Linked DNA regions of Homo sapiens: region 1 is linked to region 2. Evidence: promoter capture Hi-C in human tissues and cell types (Jung and others, 2019). All regions are on one chromosome and are shown on one strand. Each heading gives the region's core, a stretch centred on a gene start or on the middle of the fragment in contact. The rest is flanking DNA. Distances are from core to core; before and after follow the strand shown.

What was found. Contacts are between HindIII fragments. The study calls those that stand out against the background at their distance.
Region 1: a fragment that was not itself captured here is called in contact with the fragment with the promoter of SLC46A2 in region 2 in 2 of the 25 tissues and cell types used here (H1 embryonic stem cells and IMR-90 fibroblasts).

Annotation. Positions count from the first base shown.
Region 1 is chr9:113,131,892-113,134,602 of GRCh38, forward strand. No RefSeq gene overlaps it. Among named protein-coding and RNA genes, the nearest start is that of SLC31A2, 18 kb to the right of the region's middle. RefSeq lists a silencer at 1-232. The HindIII fragment of the contact is 3,800 bases long and covers 1-2,711 here.
Region 2 is chr9:112,889,452-112,892,151 of GRCh38, forward strand. It overlaps SLC46A2 (solute carrier family 46 member 2), which reads right to left and starts at 1,425. Exons shown (of 4, transcript NM_033051.4): 1 at 102-1,425. The coding sequence starts at 1,230. The HindIII fragment of the contact is 12,966 bases long and covers 1-2,700 here.

The DNA of each region.
Region 1 (2,711 bases), core at 5-2,504, 240 kb after region 2:
TAAAGAACAGACAGTTTCTGGTGGAGTGGGTGAGTAGGGGAAAGGATATTCAAATCCAAACTACCTGTGCTTGAAAGACCTCTAGTTAAAAGTGTCTGAAAAGCCAGTGTCCTTGAGCTGTCCTTGGTACTGATCTCGCCAAGGCTTAACTCTTGTTATCTTGGGAAAGCCTGCTTGGCTCTCTGCCGTGTCACTTTGCAGGGTCTGAACTGTTGCCTCCATCCAGCAATAACATGATGGATTTTACCATATTCTCCAGCCGCCTGAGAGGAGTGCTGGGCTCCCATTCTAAACTTCTGCTGTGGAAACTCACATCACTCCCACAAATGCATAGGAAATGTTTAGTTCTTGCTAGAGCAGTGGTTCTCAACCAGGGCCAATTTTGTCCCCCAGGGAACACTTGGCAATGTCTGGAGATATTTTTAGTTGTCACAATTCAGAGGTGGGGGCATTTGCTTGTGGCCCCCAGAAGCTAGAGGCCAGGGATGCTGCTAAACGTTCTGCAACACACAGGACAGTTCCCCACAGCAAAGAATTATCTGGCCAATCTGGACCAAAACATCAGTAGTACAAACACAGAAACCATGCTTTAGAGTTGAGGCAGTTGGTGTGGTAATTAGAACTTTGCTGGACATAAGTCTGGCTTAATGATCTGGATTTACCATTGTAACCTTGGCTAAGTCATAAGTCACTGAACTGTTCCAAGCCTTATTTTCTTTCTTTCTTTCTTTTTTTTTTTTTTTTTTTTTTGAGACAGAGTCTCACTCTGTCACCCAGGTTGGAGTGCAGTGGCACAATCTTGGCTCACTGCAGCCTCCACCTCCTGGGTTCAAGCAATTCTCCTGCCTCAGCATCCTGAGTAGCTGGGACTACTAAGCCTTATTTTCTATGTGTGAATGTTTAGGCTCCTGAACTAGATGGCCTCAATGCCACCTGTCTGTTCTAACTCAACATATCTTCAGTCCATAAATACTTGGTGAGTAGCATGCTCCTAGCAACTAACATTCTGTGAGACTATTAATATAAAATATAATGGAATGTATAAAATAAAGGAACAGAATGGGTAAAAGTTGTAAGAGCTGATATGATAAAAGGTGACTACTCGGTCAGGCATGGTGGCTCATGCCTGCAATCCCAGCACTTTGGGAGGCCGAGGCAGGTGGATCACCTGAGGCTAGGAGTTCGAGACCAGCCTGACCAACATGGAGAAACCCTGTCTCTACTAAAAATACAAAATTAGCGCTATTGCACTCCAGCCTGGGCAACAAGAGTGAAACTTCATCTCAAAAAAAAATAAAAGGTTACTACTTAAATATATACCAAATTTATATATAATATGCATGCTAGACAAAACACAGACTATAGATCTTCAAGTGGCGAGAAGAATGACACCTTTACTAGCAGTTAAAGAAATATAAAATATGCCACTTTTCCTAATCTTCGGAAAGAAGCAACTCAGTGGCATTGGGACTGTGAGGAAACAGATGCACTTAGATATTCTTCTGTCTCTGAACAAACACAATCTGGCACTATGAAACAGTAGCAACAAATGTGGTTCTTCAGCTCAATCAAATTATTCCGTTACAAAAAGTGTACCTGAAATTCATTGTTACATCTATAAAATTCATAGGAACCTAATATTTTAAAGTAAACACATACTAGATTACCCCCAACACACACACACACACACACACACTTTATCCACTAAACAGTGGATAACAGACACACACACACACACACTTTATCCACTAAACAGTGGATAACAGACACACACACACACACTTTATCCACTAAACAGTGGATAACAGACACACATACACACTTTATCCGCTACACAGTGGATAACAGACACACACACACACACTGTATCCACTAAACAGTGGATAACAGGCACACACACACACACTTTATCCATAAAACAGTGGATAAAGTCACTGGATTTAAAGAGTTAATTTTCAGAATTAGGAATAATCCTTTGTATTATGTCTTCCTCTTAAATATCTTAAATACCAGCTTTAGAGTTCATGGGGGCCAGGGAGGCACACAGGTTCCAGAAGGAAAGGAGCCATCCTGGATTGTGGGCCCACCCTTCAGGAGAGGAAGGTGAGAAGCTCCTGGTGCAACTTTCCATGTGGAGATCCCTGTCTGAGGCAGCCAGTGTGGGTCTTCCTCATTTTCCCCTCACAAGAGGCTCTTTTACAAGAAGAACCAGATAGAGGTTGCTTCCAGGAATGGCAGTTTCAGGTTGGTGATGCAGTTTAAATATAGAGACCTCTACCACGCTGGTTCCAAGTGACTTGACAAGGACATGCCAACCTAGCTGTGCCAAGGAGAGAGAACACATCTTAGGATGCCATCTTTTCATGACCCTCCATTGCACCTCCCCTGAGTGTGAGGAAACAGACATCTTTATTCTGCCTACAGGTCAGGGATGAAGAAGTAGCTTCCACCACCACCACCACATGCAGGAAAAGCTCCAACTAAAGGAGTGAATCTAGGAAGTATTCTTCTGCTCCCTAAAGTCTCACTTGAGCCTACAGCATTTTCAGAAGACTCTTCAAAAGAGAATTCAAAGACTGTCAGATGTAAGCAGTGACTGAAACAAAGGCAATGAGATGAGAGGTGGAAAGGAGACCAAATGTAAAAGACAGCAGAAACTTGAGTGGACGGTGGCACAAAGCAAGACCAAAGGGCAGCAGCTGTCCCCACCC
Region 2 (2,700 bases), core at 175-2,674:
CTGGTGCTGAGCTAGGACACCCAGACCATGGCATCCCTGGTGTCAGCCCCATGATGCAGAGGGCTAGCAATGTCCTGCCTCCTCAAGAATGACAGACTCACCAATATAGAACATGTATGTCTCTTTCACAAAAGCCAAGAGGAGGGCTCCTGACCCAAAGGAGACCATCCCAATCATGATCATGGTGGTGTCCCGAAAGCAGCGGGAGAAGACCAGGACACCCAGGAAGCTGGTGATGAAGATGGTGTACCCTGCAGCCATACCATAGCCCACCTGCACTTGGTTCCAACCGAGAGGCTCCCTCAGCACAAAAAGAGGGATCACGTCCACTGTGCCCACCACCGCCAGGTCATATATGATAGCACCCACAAAGAGCAAGGCAATGGTGGTTTTATGGGGTTTTGCTTTTCCAGGAGATGGAGGGTGCCCCACTGCATACTGTTGGTCCAACTGATCAGGATCCAGAGTGCGGTATGTGCCAACCGTGCCAGACACGGTATCCACGGCGGGGAGCTCCTGGCTGGGTTTGGCCACCGACTCAGGGACCTTTAGCACCAAAAGGCTGTAGAGCAGGGCAAACGAGGCACAGCTCACGCTGCAGGCCGTCAGTATCAGGCCCTGCCCAGAGTGCCCAGCCATCTGCTTGAAGAGATGCCCGGAAGCCATGCTCCCGCAGAACCCCGCCAAGCCCAGCATCAGGTCAATGAGGATGAGGCGCACAGAGCGGCGGCCCTCGGAGGAGCCCAGCGATCCCAGCGCCATGACCCCGGACCAGAAGGCGGAGAAGCCGCCGAATAGCCCGTTCAGCGCCGCCGCCCCGTACAGCACCTCCACTGGCCAGTCCAGCAGCACCTTGAGCAGCAGCCCGAGGCGGGAGAGCAGGAAGCCCAGCAGCGACATGCAGATGGAGATCTTTCGGTGGTAGCGGTCGCTGAGCCATCCCAGCCCGTAGGCGGACAGCAGGGGGGACAGGCCCACCACAAGGTTGTAGATAATGTAGAAATTGGAGATGGCTCTCTGCTGTTGGTCCTCTAGAGCCCCCCGGGGCGATGGGCTGGCACTGTGGTTGGAGGAGCCTCCGGTTCCGTAGGACGCCTTCACCACGAGGAGTAGCCCCGCATCGTAGAGGGAGGCAGCCACCTGGGACGAGGCCACCACGGGCTCAACCCAGGTCCTCGGGTGGAAGCGAGGCAGGTGGCCCCTCCGCGGGCAGGTGACCTCGGGGCTCATGTGACCTCTCTGATGGGGATCGAAGGGCTTTCTGGCTGCAGTGACAAGGATATGCTCCCAAATTCGGCTGCTACGGCTGCTCAGGTTTCAGTCCCGGAGCGCGAGTGTGCTCCGTGCGCCGGGAGCGCGAGTGTGCTCCGTGCGCCGGGAGCGCGCCGGCCAGTGGCGAGCAGAGCCAGGGCACGCAGCGCCTGTGACAGCAGCCCGCCCAGCAGCCGAGTGACCTCCCGAGTGACTCCTCCTCAGGCCAGAAAAGGCCGCGCTCCACCCTGCCCTCGCCACCTCAGGCAGAGTAGGACTGGCGACAGTCCAGGGAAGCCAGGCGCGGGGGAGCGCACCGCGAGTGCTGGCTCCTGGCGCCAGCACCCCCGGGGCCGACGGGTCACGCTGCTCCTGTGAGCGCGGCCGCCTGACGGGGCCGAATTTCCCCACAGCCAGGCGTGCGTGCCCGGACCTCCCGCGGATCTCTGCGGACCCCCCACCACCGGGGCAGGGGCTGGAAGGAAGCTCCCCAGGACTGGCTCAGGGAGCGTTTCCAAATTCTCCCATCCCAGGAAGGCAGGTTTGCGCGAGGGGTGGGACGCCTAGGATTCTGCCTAGGATAAGTATTGGGGTGTGAAGTTTTATTTATAGATTTAATGCAACAGGGGCCCATGTGCTATAGGCAGCTGGGTAGCACTTTGAGAGAAGTAAAAACTTGGGAGCCGCCAGGTCCAGGCTCTTCTCCAAGCCAAAGGCCTCTTAGAGAAGAGTCCTGTTTGGTACACCTGCATTGGTGGGCCTAGTGCCTGGGCCTTGTCTAGAAGGCTCCTGCCCCAAACCCCAGGGCCAAGGGAGAGACGGCAAGATCCTGCCAGCCCTAGATGTCCCCCTAGATGATAAAACTGGACTCTTGGGCAGGGGCTTGAGCCCACTGGAAGGGGCAGAGTCACCAGGGTCCTCATCTGAATCAAGTGCCCAGGTCCCTTTCTGCTTGTTAGTAGTCACTCTTCTTCTGTCTGTGGGCTCACTCCCCTGGGCTGGGCTGAGACCTCCACTTCCCAGGTGGCCTCGCTTCTTGTTTAGGTACATACTTCTGCAAAGAAAACCAGGGTGATGGATGGTGCAGGGGCCAAAATGTACCACAGAGCATGACCTGTTCCATGGTCAGCCCCAGGGATGGAGACTCAAAGCACACAGCCTTCCTGTCCCTCTACCCACAATCCACTATAGCTCTGGCAGCGTGGATGATCAGGAACCCAAAGACATGAAAGGGAGACGCAGGTATGCAGGGAGAGCTTAAAATGCCACATGGATAATATACTCATGTAGGGAGTAGGGACTGGATTCCAAATGATTTAGTGTATCTATGTGCTCTTTTGGTAGTGTTTAGGTGGGCTATAATCTCCTCCCCTGCCACCCTCAACCTCCAGCATGGCCCAGCCTCCTCGTGTCTAGGCCCAGACGACTCTGCCTTCTGCAAAGAGAAAG